Linked DNA regions of Homo sapiens: all the other regions are linked to region 2. Evidence: promoter capture Hi-C in 16 types of primary human blood cells and fetal thymus (Javierre and others, 2016). All regions are on one chromosome and are shown on one strand. The core of a region is centred on a gene start or on the middle of the fragment in contact, and the rest is flanking DNA. Distances in the headings are between cores, read along the strand shown.

Region 1 (2,700 bases), core at 92-2,591, 1.9 Mb before region 2:
AGATCTGTGACAGCATTTGACACAAAATCACACATTTCCCAGTGTGGCCACCTCAGTAACCTACTGAGCATGTCTGGTATTCTCATGACTAGCCATCTTCTCCCAGCCCAGGGCTCCTCTCTGGGCAGTCTTTGAACCAAAGCTTCTCACTGGGATGGCTGAGATGTCCTCAAAACCACACCTTAGTTCCAGGCCCTTCATATTCACTTCTTCCTTCCACCTCTGCTTTCATGTGTGTCTGGCCTATGTCTTACTCTGATTGCCACCTTTCTTTTCTATTTCATGGGAGTTACCCTCAATCAATGTCTGGCATTTCTAAGTCTGTCTGTGTGTCTTTTTCTTGGAGGACTCATATGACACAAATGCCTTTATATATATATATATATATATATATCAACAATAAATGACAGAAGACAATGGTAAAATGCCTGCACATTTCTGAAAGAAAAAAAAGGGTACAACTTAAGAATAAAATACCTAGCCAAGTGTGCATTCAAGGATAAATACATGTATTGAGGAACTCACATAGCCATGAGAATTTTTGAAAAAAAAATGCTACTTGACAATGCAATATGAACAACCAAAAGATGAATAATATAATTGGTAGAAAGGAAAATTAGAATATTTGATGCCGGAAGACATTAAAGCAATGACACGTATTTTTAAACATGAAATAACTTAGAGAATTCAACAGCAATAGCCTTTTATTAAAAATATTGACAATAAAATCCAGTCAACCCACTTATTAAAATTTGTAAAGCGTTAAATTGGTATTATTTTAGAAATCAAGGTGCTAGTTTCCCTGGAATACGGATGGAACCAAGTGGGTGGGGAGCTGTTTGGAGTGCTAGTAATGTTCTGTGTGGATATATTGATGTCTTCATTTATAAAGTGTTAGCGAGCTTAACGTTTACTGTATGTGTACTTTTCTGCACATATAGTAAATCTTAGTACAAAACTTGCTTGGAATCCCTATTAATATGGAACTAATGCTAAACAACTGTGGGAATTATAGACCATAATAATTATATGATTGTAAATGTTATTAATCCCTGAAAAAATAAAAATAATAAAAGTAGTAACATGAGTAGCAGAAATAAAAATTAGGAAAAAGGGTGAGTGGGAAGACAGAGGTGAGTGATCACAATCTTTCTTATTTTTTATAGTAGGTTGTCAACTCGTATAATGAATGAGGATAAAATGTGTAATTTAAACCACATAATCCTCGAACCTCTAGTAGTTTTCAAACTGTTTTTTGCTTATAAATAAATAGACCTTTAATATTATCCTTTGTGAAAGATAAATTTTGTTCAGCCATTCTGTTTACTTTGATTTCCTTTAACTTTTTTAAATTAAGTAAAATAAATTTAATGTTTTACTTAAATTGCACTTTTATTAAATTATAACTATATTTTATATGTATTTAATAATATTTTATTTGTATCCATATGTAGTTAAATGTCTAGGTCAATGCGCATATATTAAAAGCCTATACCTTCTAAAAGTTTTAGATGTTGGGTTTACTTTTTTCTAAAAAATGTTTTATTTCTATAAAAATAGTAAAGTCAGTAGTCTTAAAACTAAGTGATTTAGACACAATTAACAACTTTTTTTTTCCTCAGGGTGTTTTTCTAACTCTTTATTAAATGCAATAAATTGTTTCATTTGGCACCAACACTTCACTTCTCCCACTATCCACACTCTTTGTCTTATGACTCTACGTTGTCCCACTTTAGGGTGTGGGAGCTATGACCTTCCTGCTCCTGGATGCTGGGCTCAGCTAAGTTTTGATAAGTTTATTTGCGTTAATTTTATTTAAATAACATTCAAAATATTATATCTAATTTGCTTTAGTAATTTCAAGAATAGATGAGTTATAAATAATAGAGAACTAAAAAATTAATAATTCCTGGAAGACTAACAATCAGACCTTAATGTTAGTACTTTCTTTTTTTCTCAAACTAAAAATATCAAAACTGTAAGAGGTATATCAGTCAGGATCCAGAAGATAAACATCAGGTTAAGGTTACCAGACAGTAATCTTAATATCAAAAATTATTAACTGTAAGAGGGGATTTGCTAGCAAAGAATAAACAGAACTGTTAATAATAGAGTAATAGCAAATTATAGGGGCCACTACCCATAAGGCTGAATTGATACATAATAGAAGCAAGAGGGTCTGGAACCAGCTTCCACACACCATACCGATCCAGATTCATTGGAGAGGGCATAGCCATGAACATCTGCATGGCAGGGTTTGCTGAGGCTGCAAAGTACTCAGGAAGATATCAGTAGAAGCCATCCACAGATAGGTGTCATACAAGCAGCACTCTGTCATGAAGGCAACTGATGGGGTTTCAGAGTCAGCACTGTCTGGATACCTGGAGCTGGCCCTGCAAAAGCTGTGGATGTGGCTGGACAGGCTTTGTAGAAACAAGCTGTGTTGTAGGAGCCAACGTCAAGAAGCATAAAAGAACCTGGGAGAGAAACCCATTCATCCTTCAATTTCCCCCTTAGTAGCTTCTACTAACAAAGCTTAACATTATCCTGACTGGCAAAGAAGGAATGTTTACAGGTTCCAGCCCCACTGTCAGAAATAAAGCAGTAAATTGTGAACTTTCAACCAAGAGACAATAAAGTGATGACTAGGACAGTGCATGCCTTTGGTTACTCAGTTTCCATATTCACTCTTCTATTCAA
Region 2 (2,756 bases), core at 155-2,654:
GGTGTTTCAGCCTCTTCCACTCAAGCCAGGATGGGTACCCAGACTAGAGCAAGCATGTGTTAGCTACCTTTAAAAAACAACAACACACCTTCATAAAGAATGCCTAGATTCAAAACATTTGTTTCGTTTTCATTTATTTGTTCCTTTATTGTCCCAGTGAATATTTACTACTTACTTCAAATTGCAACGAGATGCTGACAATTTAGCTATGAACAAAGCAGATGTAGTTCCTGCCCTTATTCAACTTCAAGAAACAGGCAATGAACGACAAGTCAGTGTCACAAGGAATACCAAGGGGAAAATGCAGGGCACTAAGAAAGTGTAAAGCAGACACTCAGGGGCTTTAGGGGTAGATAAGTCTTTCTGGAAGAATTCATCTGTACAGTGAAACTTCAGTATACATAGGAGTAAGTTCGGCCAAGGGAAAGAGTGTTCTTGACAGAACAGCATTGGCAAAAGTGGCAAGAATTTTAAGAAAATTAAAGAAAATGTACAAGTGATGGAACCAGGAATCATGGGGCTCTTTAAGGACAAAATATCTTAAAGGAGTTTGAAATTCACCTTAAATGCAATAGGGAGCCATTGTAAAGTTTCCTATTTGATACTTGTTTTGTAAAAATATTAATCTATGAAGAATATAGGGAGTGGAGTCTGCGGTCAGAGTGGGTACTAGTGCAATTTAGGGAATGAGATTAGGCTGGAAGCTGGATTGGGGGGAAAAAGATGGGCATGAGAGAAACTTGGAAAGCAGAGTTGAGAAGATCGTGTGACCGACTGGACGGGCAAAGGTTAAGAGAGGATAAATAATCATTAAGGACGATTTCTCAGGCTTCTAGTCGGTAACTGGATGGATGTTGGTGCCATTTCTCGAGAAGAGTTAAAGAGCCAGAGATAGCCGGCAAAGAGAAACATGGAGCTAGAATTTTCAGGTATCTGCAGTTTCCCTAATACCTTTTTAATCCAGAATTTGCTCCTTGTTTTGGTTTTAATTCCTCTAAAAGCTGCTTCCGTGTTGCAAGCTGGCTGACCGCTTTAACAGGCAACCAAAGAGATTCTTCTCACAAGAGGGAGGCTTTGAGCACAACCCGGGACATTTGAAGCTGTCAGACTGAAGAAACAGGAAGCTTTGAACTACCTATCACACTCGGCCTTAAAGGTTTCGGAGTAACTCCACCCGTAAAATCCCCACGACTCTGATTAGAAAGTCCCGGCGGGTCGCCGAGACCCGACCGCAGGCTCCGCCCCAGGGCCAGGTGGATGCCCGGATGTGGACTTGAGCGAATGTGCGTCACGTGACGTCGCCTGGCGGGGCGGGACTCTGCCTGCGACGGTGGTGTTGGGTGCATCCTGCGCCACGTGACCGCCTCCCAGCCAACCAATGGAGGAGCGAGGCGGAAAATTTCGAATGTGGCGGCGGTAGTTCCAGGCGACGGCGGACGGTGGTACGGTCCTGGAGGGCCCAGTGCGCGGGGCTAGCCGTGGCTGGAGAGCTTCGAAGAGCCTTGAAATGTGAGGAGGAGGAAGATAGCTGTTGCAGAAGTAGTGGCCAAGGTATCGTTCTGGACGCGCCTGCGGCAGGAGGGTCGCCGCGTCCACTTCCGCCAGCCCCACCTCCCCCCGGCCTTCCTGGAGTCCCTGAAAGAGGAAGAAGTAGGTTTTAAGGTGCGAAACAAGGGCGTAGTGATCCCTGTTTGACTTCCCTTCGGTTTTCAGTATCATTCTAAATTCGGTGGCCGAAAGCTCGGGCCGTGGAGTCCCACTCGCCGCGCTTTTCGCCGTTCAGCCACTCGATCTGCGCTTTCAGATGTTCCGGCTTCCATGGAGACCCTAATTTCCTACTTTGCAAAATTGTGTAGATTAAGTGATGTGCAAATAAAGCTTTTACAATAGCTAAAAGCCTGGCTCAACGTAAGGACACAAGAAAATTGACAGCAGTTCTTTGTGCAGCGTGATACCGTTGACGTCCTCCTTGTCCAGGCCATTCTCTTCCTCACTTACCCTGGAGAGGCCGGCACTGACTAGTATCCTACCTGGCTGTCTTCGCAGCAGGACTAATTGGAGAATTATGGACGGAGATCAAATATGCTAGGTTCTTTAAATCCAGAGCGCTTACACGAGTACTGTACAGATTGAGACCGTCATCTCGCGCTGTGGTCTGTCTTTGCTTTCATCCCTTCTGTCTACCACACCCCCTGCTAATAACCATCGCCTTATTTAGACAGGATATAAAACTTTTGATATGGCAAGTTTCTTTTGTGATTTTTAACTTGATTAAAAGTAATAACGAAAGCTTTTTAGGTAAGGCTTTGCCTTTAAAATACCTTAACTAAACTAGATCCGTTACTTAATCTGTATGACTCTCAAACATCTCCAATTCTAACTTAATTGTGTAAAACAACCCCTTTACCGTTCGTGCTTTTAAAAATAGCTACCCTATCTCTGCTAGGAACCTCCCAGTACATATTGTATATACCTTGGTAGAAAGAAAGTTCTTAAGTGGTATCTACAATACCTATATTTAAGATTCCAGACACTGCATAGAGGAAAATAAGGCCTGGAGGAAATACTCAAGATTAAGTGTAAGGTTTAGGAAAATATTTGACTATCGTAGAGGAGATGAAGATATCCTTTGTAGTGAAAATTCTGTGCATAGATTGTTATTGGAAACAAGTCTTTTTTTTTTGCAATTTTAAGATCTGCAAAGTGCAATCTAGCGTAAAAGATGTTTGTGAAAAGTGGTTTGACATGTTTAGTAG
Region 3 (2,700 bases), core at 177-2,676, 1.8 Mb after region 2:
TAAAGGGCTGCTTTTGTGGTCACCATGTAAATGTGTTATAGTCATCCCCTCAGTACCCAAACCCGTTTTAAGGCCATTCCATGATACAGTATAATTAAAATGTTGGTCCAACTAGATTTTTACCAGATTTTTAATGTTTTCTTTTAATTTGAGTTTTAATTCTGAATATTAGTCTTAGCCATTTGAACTTGAACTGTAGGATGCTGCTGTAAACATTTCTGCAGTGGAGAGATCTCAAAGTGTATTTCTGCTATATTCTGAGTAGCAGATATTCTCAAAATGTGTTTCTAATGTGAGGCTTATGAAGATTATTGGGTACCTTTGAAGGGAATCTTGTCAGCTTTGTGCTTCTGTTTCATAGAAACTCCATGCATTTCAGATTTGCTAAGTTACGTTCCAACACTTTTACTTTGATATTTGCTAGAAATTTTAGGAATGAAGCAAATGAATTGTTTATAATTAATAGCTTTCTATATATTCTAAAATAAGCTATAGCCACAGGTTACATATTCTCTGTATTGTTAAGTGTCCATTTCTTGCAATTCAGAGAAAACTCTTATTTGTCATTTCAGTTATACCTACAGCTAATCTCCTGTCTTCCCTCTCTCACCCTTGGAATAGAGAGGATATGAATTTATAACCATCAAATAAAAATAATTTAAATTAATCACAAATGAATAGGATGATAGAATAAAAGGGTGACTCTTACTTCAGGGACTTTGTTTCGCAGACAACTCCAGATAACATGTTACATGGTTGCTAACATATGAAAATTTGAAATGATCTAGAAATAAACTTTTTAAAAACTCAGTTAAAATATGATGTAAACACCCAGTACTGGAATCGCATGTGTCTTTATGTTACTAAATGTCCCATTGATCTTGGAAGTATATTCAGACAAATACTTAAGGCATTTACTATGAGCTGAAGAAGAGGCTGTCGTTACAAATATTTATTGATACAGTCAGTGAGAACTAATTGTTAAATGACATCAACATTCAGCCAATAAACTCTACCTCACTATAACTTATAAATAGAATTGTGAATTTACTTAATGTTATCATGGAAAATGAATTGCATACAATTATAACATTAAGTAGAATGACAAAATGTAATTCAGGACTTGGTTTTGGAGTCATACATTGGTGAATTTCTATAGAGAGAGGTTTTCAGATATATGGCTTCCTGTGGCTGGATACCTCACTGTAATCATTAAGTGATGGAACTAGGCTACAATATCAACATCAGTTATAATTGCAGTATTCTTTTCCATAAAAAAACTTCTAAAAATTATGCATAGTTTAGGAGTGAAAGCAAATATTTGAAATTAATATTTAATAATATGAAAACATGTAAATTGTTCTCTAAATGAGGTACTTATTTTATATTTTGCTGAATCATCTTCTCTTTTTCTATGAATCTGATACTCCAGTCAGAATTTTTTCAACATAAACTGTTTTCTGTTTGCTTCTTTATTATGTTTTTCTGTCTAGAGTTATTAAAATGAGAGATGCAAGTTCCCTAAAGCCTATGTCCAAAATATATGCCAAGTTTGACAAAACTACTCTTTTTCCTATGGTTAAGATTTGGTGATGAAGATGTCATGGTGAAAAAAGCCTAGCAAATAAATATGGCCTCAGTCTTGAGCAAAATGGGACCTAACACCAAGAAATGCCAAGTGTTAAGCCCTTTCTTCCCCTGTGGAGTGTTGATTCATTCATGGGAGAGAACCTTTAGCATGCAATACACCATACACATTTTACTGTACAGTAAGGGTTTTATTTTGTTGAATATGATAAAGTACTCCAGTAGCAAGTATGGCTACAGGGGCCCTAAATATTATAGTTAGTAGAAAGTTCACCCTGTGGGCAGGTAAATTCCTTTTATAGAGCAGGGGCCAGGAGGAGTGGAACTGGGGAGCCACCAGGATTTTGCCTGGGGTGTTGAATAAGCCCTGCCTCCAATGCTCTTAGGACGATTGTCTAATACTTGCTAAGCAAATGTCCATTTGGACTTGGATTCTTAGAACCAGAAGGGATTATCCTTCCTAGGCTCCTCCTTTTGATAATTGAAGGAGCCAGTGTCCCTGGAGATTAAAGTCACGGTGCAATGACTAACAAGAAAGTCCTGACTTGCTAAGCCTATGTCCTTGCCTGACAATAAATTTTAAAGTGCTGATTTAGCTACTTGGGAGGCTGAGGCAGGAGAATTGCTTGAACCCAGGAGGCGGAGGTTGCAGTTAGCCGAGATAGCACCACTGCACTCTAGTTTGGTGACAGAACGAGACTCCGTTTCAAAAAAAAAAAGGAATACTTACATTTGGGTACAATAATGTTTTCTTTGATGATATTCATAAGGTTTTCTTCAGCTGCAGAAATTCCATAAGTGGGCTTAGTTTGATTTACAACTCATACCTTTATTTCTGTTATCACTTTCCTATCATAAATCTGCCCAAATCGATTGACACTAATTTATTAAATTCTTTGTACCATGTGTTTTTTTATTTTTGTAAAATGTTCTAAGACATAAGAAACACTTAGCTCATTATAGGTCTGAGGTTAGATGTTTTGTTGTTACTTTTGTTTTTTTCGGTGGATGTGGTTAGATAAGTTGGATGGTGCATTCTGAACTGCAGCTAAGGAGAGAATAAACACTGATTTGGGGACAAGAGAGCCTGTAGTCATGAAACTTTTGAGGATA
Region 4 (2,700 bases), core at 185-2,684, 1.7 Mb after region 2:
ATTTTTGACAAATGTGCAGACAGGAATAGCATGAATAGGCATCTTAAATATTAACAACCTAAGCATCTGTTGTGAAACAAATTTAATATATTTACTCTGTTTTTCTCACATTGTTAGAAAAGGTTATAATAAGTGCATAATTTCAACTTTAGTTAGCAGAAGTAACTGGCTGTATCTTTCACTACCTCTCCAAGTGTTTATTACACAATCATCAGACATAAATACTTTAATTAACTTGGTTAAGCACATTATTAAATACACTGTAGACAATGTGTATACTATATAAAATGTAACAGTAGCAAACTATGTATTCTATTTGTACACGTTTTAAATGACTATGCATTTTATAAATATACCAAATATGTTTATTCTTCATCTTCATTTGACACTTACTACTTCATAGTTTTTTCTAATGAAAACAATATTTTAAATGTAGAGTTGTTCAGTCATAGGTAATACATAATATTTAAACAGTAGCTATAAAATACAAGGCATTGTCAAATTTGGATAATGCTACATCTAACATTATACAAGAGAAATAAAATTACAATTCAATTTTGTATTTATTTCTGAATAATGAATATAAATAATATATGAAAAAATAACGAATAGGGATTTCCCTCCTAAAGTACTACCTCCTTAAAATTTGGTGGGAGGGCAGGATGGGGGGCGGGGGGAAGATAGAGAAAGAAGACCTAAATAACTTCCAAAAGTCTGAATAGTTATTTCCAGAATCAATGCATTCCTCACTTTCCCACAAGCTGAAATATGTAATAAATAATAGTTCTTTGTATGTAAAAGTATTCAAAAGGAATGTTTTTTGTTCAGATTTGTAAGAAATTAATATATTCTTTGGTTGATAATCTACAAAAGTAGTTCTTTTGTCTCCCAGCATCTTAAGAACGACAACAAAATGAATATTGGTTTATTTCTGCAAAGAAATCTGTTGCCAGCTATATGAACCTGTGATTAAATAAGACATGATATGCTGAGTGATGGTAAAGAAATACTACATTAACTTAGTAAAGACTAAAATATCTGGAGGAGAATTTTTAGTTCTTTTTCATATGACAGGTTGTGGATTGTAAATTAGGCCTAAAAGGTCAGGTGACAGGCACCTGTTCCTCATTATTGTAAAAATATTTTGGTTACAAACACTGTTAAGCTAAACACAACATGGATATACAGCAGGGACTCTATAAAGCACTCTAGTGGGTTTTCATCTGTTCTGTAAATTTCCAAAAGGGCTATACATAGATATGCCCTTTACACACATAGTTTCTTCCATACATATTGTCTTGGATGGCTGTAATTAATATATTAGCACTTGGAATTGATGAAGTATTTAAAATAAATGCATATGACTAAAGCAATCTTCAGACTATTTCTAGACATGATGTAGTTGAATGCAAAAATGTTTTTAATCTCTTTTCCCTTTTCAATATATTGATTATCAGAATTTTGTTCATGTTATAAATAGAAACCTCCCCAGATTGCCTTTTACACTTTTTAGATAAGATGGGTTCTTATTTTAAATGCTGCCACGAAATATTTTGCTCAGTACTCATATATAAAAAGAAAATTAGTTGCTATATACTGTCATAGCTTTGTGGCATACATAAAATAGAAAAAACACGTTTTACATGAATGCTGTTAGGAAGGATATCATCATTTGATCTTCAAACTTGCCGCTTCTCTCAGGAGAGTTCAGCAATATTTCTATTGGAATTAAGGAATGGGGTTTGATTTTTATGAATGGTTTACCTTCAGATATTTCAGAGAGCAGAATAAGCATACATATTGAAAAGACCAAAGTGGCACAAGGCTGCAAAATATTAAAGGTGCCAGGTGCTTTTAATTAACAAATGAGGACTATCTCGAGTAAATCAGATAACTTGGATTAAGTTCTATGATATTTCAAAATGTTTTTCGTCTTTTTCAGTTTTGTGTGGTTTGTGCTTATTATATTAAGTATTCATTTTTAGCATTTGTGATCAGATTACAGAACAGTCATTACTCTTGCTTTTCAAATTGATTTGGTTTTCAAACTCCAAAACTCTGTGATGATTTTTACAAATTGGTTTACATTTTGACAGAACAGAGTTAAGTTAATTAATAGATCAGGCACGAAAAATCATCCACAGTAGGGTATATTTTCTGGTAAAATGAAAGTTATGTTTCAGCATGATGAGCATCAGGCTTCAGTAATCTGTTCCTCGTGTGGAATGAACACTTCCTACTTCGAGCTAGCAGGCACCTACTGTTTATTTACGCTGCATTAAACTGACAGTGCAGCAATCAGAGGAAAAATATTACTTACCTTCCTGAAGTAAATACCAGTTTATAGTTTAGTGCACGTATTTATATTCCTGTCACCACTAAATAACGGCTCTGTCTCCATTTTAATATCTACCTGTGCTATAATCCAGGGCTTCAGACTCTTCCTGGTTGGGGATAGGGGTCGAGAGGAGTTTTTCTTATCATTTCCCTATGGCAAAACTTTAAAGACAAGTAATTTCATCTTTTCATTTCTGTCATGTGAGAACCAGTTGAAAGAAATGTTATGCACTTTTACTTTGCATACCTCAACTATAACATCAAAACCCCAAAAGAATCTGCATGCCACTTAAAATAGTCATCTTAAAGCAACCTCAGGATAAATATGTTCAAACACATTCAAATGTGTTTTGCTAAATTAAC
Region 5 (2,972 bases), core at 230-2,729, 1.0 Mb after region 2:
CTTTTCCTCTCAGGACATTTCTGCTATTTCTCATTAGCTAACACTGTGTAATAAAGATGTCTTTAGCTACAAAAAGAATGTGGAAGTGATTAATTACCCAGGATTTATAAAAGAAAGAAGCAAGGTCTAACAGTTTAAGAATGCGTGTGGGTCAACCAACCTACCTAGATCTTCTGCCACATATTTCAAAGGCAGTTAGAAACAAGGTGTGACATGAACAAACGTCCATAATATGGATGACATGCAGGTTTTATATACACTTCAATCCTAAAAATTAATAGCAACTACTAGGCTTTCTGTATTGAAAATAATTCCTAGATGGCTCCCAGACTCATCAAGAGAGTTGAAGAACAATTAATAATGTCTACCATGGGCATGGTAGAAAATCTTAGGGATTCAGATCACTGCAGTAGACCTGGAGCTGTTAGCTCTGTAGCAGATTCCTAAGAGCCGTATTTGTCCCCATCTCTCCATTGCAGAGGAAAGTGAAGAAGTACTTACTTACCCTATGATTTAGTGCTATATCTCTCATTTTGATCACTTGTTAGTCAGGCTATGTTAGATTATTTTGTGGTAGCAAATTAATACCCTACCTCAAGTTTAAGTAAGTTAACCACCAAAATGTAATTATCACTTATAAAGCAATAGAGGGGGCTCTTCTTTACACAATTACTCAGGCACTCAGGCTGATGGACACTCATCCATGTTACAGTTGCACATCCAGAAACAGAGGCCTCCATCATGATCACTGAACAGAAAAGTCACCTGCTATCCTGTGATTCAACCCAGAAATTATACACATCACCTCTTCCTAAAGCTTACTGACCAGAATTACTCATATGCTTTTACTCACCTATGAGAAAGAGCACCCGGAAAGTACTCTGCCAAATCCCCTCTATAAAAATAAAAGATGATACCACCAACTCAGACTTTTCGTGATATTTAAATGACTGAATAATATAAAACACACAGAATAATGACCGAATTATAGTAATAACTCAATAAATGCAAGGTATTACTATTTTAGGTAATTCCGCATATATTCCCACCTTCAGAATTCAGGTCACTGCAACAGACCTTGGGCAATAGTTCAGTAGTAGATTCCAAGAGGTACATGGTTTCAACCAATAGTATTCTCAACTCTTATAAATTTTCACAGTGGTCAAGTTACATAAGGAGGAATACATTCCATATCTTACTGCCATTCAATGAATCTGAGCCTCTTTGGAAGAGTGGAAGGTGAAAAGTGGAGATAATACTGCTTATTTATTTATTAAATCTCACCATCTTTCTCTTGTTTTGAAAATTTCCTGCCACAGGAAACAACATGTCCCTCAGTGCCTATCCAATTTTCAATACTCTGTTCAGGCTTGTTACACAAACACTGGAATCCCAGTCTCATCAGACCTTAATGGTAAATACCTTCCATTTTTGCTCTCTCCTGTACCAGTGTATGTATACACTGTGTCCATCCTACTTTCTTTTCTTCCAGAAGATTAGGTGTTCTCTCCAAAAGTAATACACAGCCACCTGAAATTTTCATTGTCTGTTTCCAGAATCATGTTCCATTTGTCCTCCCCTTCTGTCCTATATCTTTGTTTCTGTCTCTTTTTCTCTCACTACTTGTTTGTTCTCTCAACCTATAAATATTCCAGCTATTCTAATCCTGAGACATATCCTTCCTTGATCTATCTGATCTTTCACATTTCTTTTACATGTAAATTTCCTGAAAATCCATCTAAAATTATTTTGATCTTGTTGCTTCTTCAACCATTCTAAAAAGATTTATCAAAGTCAATAATGACGTAATTTTCTAAAATAATGGACATTTTCAATCCATATATTCCTAATTTTTTGTTGTCTTTGACTCTGTCAATTCCTTCTTAAAACTTTCTAAATTTCTAAAATAGAAAACTTTATTGTTTTGAACAGAAAGAGTCTTTTCTGTTGAATGGTTGGGTTTCTTGAAAAAAGAAAAAAAAAACCCTCTTCCCTTAGCCTATCTTTATATTCTAGTCTCCCTCAAGACTCCATAAACTGGGCCACTAAACTCTACATTTCAGTTACTGTCATATTTTAAATATTTCCTTTCTGAGAACACTTTCCTAATCTTTTTCTGAAACCCAGGCCTCTAAGCTTCTGACAATACCTAATTGTGCTCTCGATATTACTCCTTAACTATTTATTTCACATAAACTTCTGTGTATACCACCAAGTAATCTATGTGAGATCCCAAGTAGTCCTTATTCTTATATCTAAGAGCCATATTTGGCTCCAGTCTATTGTCCAGACTGGAGTGCAGTGGTGAAATCATAGCTCCCTGTAACCTCTAACTCCTGAACTCAGGTGATCCTCCCACCTCAGCCTGCTAAGTAGCTAGGACTACAGGCATGCACCACACACCCAGCTATTAAAAAAAAATATATATATATATATATTGTAGAGACAGATCTTTGCTATATTGGTCTCAAACTCCTGCCCTGAAGTGATCCTCCTGCCTTGGCCTCCCAAATCACTGGGAGTACAAGTGTGAACCACCTTGCCTAGCCTCTAAGCCTTTCTTTACAATGTAGCTAGCATGATTTTAATAAAAGGCAAATCTGAGCATGTCACCCTTCATTTTGCCTCTGGGATTATGAGCCCATCTTATTTGCCATGGCTCATTTCTCACCATCCTCAAAATTTATACTCAAGGAAAACACAATTCCTAGAAGTTCCTAAAATACACAGTGCTCCTCTAGAGACTATGACTTTGATTATGATAACCTCACTTCATGAAAAGTGCTTCCCAGACCTTCTTTGCATGACTAACACACACATACCCACTTTCCACTTCAGCCTAATTTGAATGCCACTCAAAATAGAAGCATTTGCTTTCATAATAGATGTTGTATATCTTCTGACCTAGTTTTATCTGCGCAGTTTTAGGCAAGCCTTTTCTTAGTTTCATGGAGATTATAATAACACACATT
Region 6 (2,743 bases), core at 153-2,652, 1.4 Mb after region 2:
TCCTAGTCCTACTGTTGTTACATTTAGTGCCAATCTGTGGTAGGTTAAATATCAATGGATATGTTTTTATATCCCAGGGTTACCTGAAACATTCAGAAGAGCAACAGATTCCAGGAATCTTCTGAGTAGCAAATGCCAATTTCACCATCCCACTCTGGAAAAAATGGGCTAAGAGGAGTGAGAACTCCCCGGAGCCTACATTCTGCCTCTGTACTTCCCAAGATGGATCTTCCTGGCTGCTCTTTGCCTCCCACCCAAGAATCACCCTCCACCTCCATCCATGCCCCACTGTTCTCCATTTGAGAACAGGCAATGGAATGAGAATGGAAGCCAATCACCAGTGGTGCTACATTTGAATTTTCTTTATGACCAGGGCTGTTACTATAGTGTTGTACTAACTACATTTTCTCAGCAATTTTTAAGTTTTGTTATATATATTTAGGGTCATATTTGTTGCTGGAATTCTCAGTCCTTATAAACCTGAAAACCATCCAGCCTCAAAACCATAATACCTTTCATTAGAACAATTATTATATCACAATTTTTGATAATGCATAGAAATTGGATTATTGATAATGCAACATTTCTTGGGATTAAAATTATGACTTGTATTAGAGTATTACATAACATGGTTTAATGTTGCTATGGTACAAAGTGTGTGTGTGGCAGTGAGGATTTGGGGATGGGAAAGGAGTTCAGAACAGTAAGAATATTCTAGGCATAGGGAAATATTACACTTCACTGTATTTCTTTGCTTACTTGGCTCTTTTCTTTGTAAGATTATAAGCTTGTTGGTGGTGGGACATCATACCATTTAATTTTTTTTTTATTCCTTGAGTGTAGTTGAGTGTTTCACACATAGTGTACTCTCAGAAAAATGGTTAAAGGAATACATTATGACAAAACAGAACATACAACAATGTGTAAGGGAGTGGAATGCAAACAGCTGTCCGAGAAGAGAATATGAGTGATAGAGAAGCTCCATTTACTCACCAGTTGCTTGGGGTTTGTGTCTTATGATGTTTATTGTTTTATTTCTCTCAAAAAATTAACTCCAAGGGCAATATCCTCAGGATGATCAGTTTTATCCTGCTCGGGTTGGATATTTTTCTAAAAAAGAAGAGAGAATTGTATCAGTAGACAGCCAAAGTCTTGCCTGAAAACGAAGGTTAATGCCTAGCCAGTCATATTATGGTTCATGCACCAGCAACATGGCCACAACCTGGGAGCTTATTAGAAATGCAGACTGTCGGGCCCATCCAAGACCTCCAGAATCAAAATCTGCATTCGTATAAGATCTTTAGGTCATTCACGTGTGCTGCATTAAATTCCGAGAAGTGGTCATTTAAGGACACTGTTGGGACATTAGGTATGACATATAGCATCATGATGAGGTCAGAGAAGGCTGTGGTTTCCAGTCTGGCTGAACGGAAGAAGGATGGTTACATTAACTAAGATACGGAAGGGAAGATGAGGAACTTTTTTGAAGTGGGATGAGAGAGAAGCAGAAAGATATTAGGGATTGGAAAAGAGGAACTATGTTGCTCACACTTTTTGCCAATCAAATCAATAACAATGAAATGTAGTTCACTTCCAATATCAAGAGTTTGCAAATGTCTAGAGAAACTGCAAGAGGGGAAAAACGAAGAAAATATTTTAGGTTGAATTACATGTAAAAGGCAATCTCTTCTTGTTTAAAGATATTTGAACTGCTAAAAGCCCAGAGAGGAAGTAATTGTTACACCTTCCCTCCACACTGTGTGGCTAGGTCATTTCTCTGAGCTGAGTTCCATCAGCCAACTCTCTCTTTTTCATTCTTGTTCTTCGCACACTTAATACCTTGAAAAACAATCCTTTTAATATCCTCTAAAACCCATTTTGGATACCTACACTGTGTAAAATGAGTGTAAAAAGCCTCTTAACACAATTGTTTTCAAATGACACTGTCAATGTATTTTTCCTCATTTTTGTAATCATTATTACTGACTGTTGCTTATAATAACCCCACACAAGCTTAGAACAGAAATCTGTTTTCTTACGGATTTTTACAAGACTTTAACCTTCATAGTATGCCACTGCTACTCTTTTTATTTTTTATGGTTTTGTCAGATTCTGGAGAAACATCACAGCATTAATTTTTTAAAAATAAAACAGCCCGGAGTCATTTACATGAACTTTGCAAAAATATGCATATGATAGGAGTATAGATTATCTGTTGGGGGTAAGGAGACAAGGAGAGAAGCAAACACTACTTAGTGTAATGCACCTTTTATCATCAGATCTCAAAGTGCTCCACAAATATTAATATATCACATTACTTCCCTGGGAAACAAGTCAATATGATTAAACGCATTTCACAGATGAGAAAACTGAAAGCACAGATTGGCAAAGTGATCTGCCTAAAGCCATATCAAAGGTCACAGTGGAGTGGGGCCAGAACTTAGTGTCCTGATACTGGTAATTCATATCACTAGTCATTAGTTACTTGGCTCTTACTTTTGTTTCTAAAGGGGGGAAAAAGCTTCTAGTCCATCAACCCAGCATTGAGTGTTTGTTGCAAGGTGTGGTTTTTTTCCTTGCTCTTCCCACAGCCCCAACTCTCTATCATTTTCTGCTAACCAGACTCTTTAGCCCCAATCACTTGCTGCCTCTTCCCCTCAAAATGGAGTGGAATAAATGTAGTTTCACTTGAGAGAAAGTAAAATAATTATTATGGCTGTGTGAGTGTGAGTGTGTGTCTGTG

Evidence for each region. Contacts are between HindIII fragments. The CHiCAGO score rates a contact against its expected background, and 5 or more counts as called.
Region 1: a contact is called between a fragment that was not itself captured here and the fragment with the promoter of SGO1 in region 2, in 1 of 17 cell types (M2 macrophages). The highest score is 5.6, in M2 macrophages.
Region 3: a fragment that was not itself captured here is called in contact with the fragment with the promoter of SGO1 in region 2 in 1 of 17 cell types (activated CD4 T cells); the score reaches 5.8 in activated CD4 T cells.
Region 4: a contact is called between a fragment that was not itself captured here and the fragment with the promoter of SGO1 in region 2, in 1 of 17 cell types (monocytes). The highest score is 6.2, in monocytes.
Region 5: a fragment that was not itself captured here is called in contact with the fragment with the promoter of SGO1 in region 2 in 1 of 17 cell types (fetal thymus); the score reaches 5.2 in fetal thymus.
Region 6: a fragment that was not itself captured here is called in contact with the fragment with the promoter of SGO1 in region 2 in 1 of 17 cell types (monocytes); the score reaches 7.4 in monocytes.

What each region holds. Positions count from the first base shown.
Region 1 is chr3:22,092,080-22,094,779 of GRCh38, reverse strand. It overlaps a transcript of ZNF385D not described here. Among named protein-coding and RNA genes, the nearest start is that of ZNF385D-AS2, 140 kb to the right of the region's middle. The HindIII fragment of the contact is 2,393 bases long and covers 145-2,537 here.
Region 2 is chr3:20,184,854-20,187,609 of GRCh38, reverse strand. SGO1 (shugoshin 1) reads left to right here and starts at 1,404. Exons shown (of 8, transcript NM_001199251.3): 1 at 1,404-1,662. It overlaps SGO1-AS1 (SGO1 antisense RNA 1), which reads right to left. Exons shown (of 4, transcript NR_132785.1): 4 at 1,495-1,635. RefSeq lists enhancers at 927-986, 1,007-1,686. The HindIII fragment of the contact is 754 bases long and covers 1,127-1,880 here.
Region 3 is chr3:18,411,586-18,414,285 of GRCh38, reverse strand. The region is part of intron 5 of SATB1 (SATB homeobox 1); the gene reads left to right. Among named protein-coding and RNA genes, the nearest start is that of SATB1, 12 kb to the left of the region's middle. The HindIII fragment of the contact is 3,784 bases long and covers 1-2,700 here.
Region 4 is chr3:18,440,146-18,442,845 of GRCh38, reverse strand. It overlaps a transcript of SATB1 not described here. Among named protein-coding and RNA genes, the nearest start is that of SATB1-AS1, 3.7 kb to the left of the region's middle. The HindIII fragment of the contact is 2,874 bases long and covers 1-2,700 here.
Region 5 is chr3:19,138,875-19,141,846 of GRCh38, reverse strand. No RefSeq gene overlaps it. Among named protein-coding and RNA genes, the nearest start is that of KCNH8, 8.1 kb to the left of the region's middle. The HindIII fragment of the contact is 1,319 bases long and covers 820-2,138 here.
Region 6 is chr3:18,744,321-18,747,063 of GRCh38, reverse strand. No RefSeq gene overlaps it. Among named protein-coding and RNA genes, the nearest start is that of SATB1-AS1, 300 kb to the right of the region's middle. The HindIII fragment of the contact is 1,226 bases long and covers 790-2,015 here.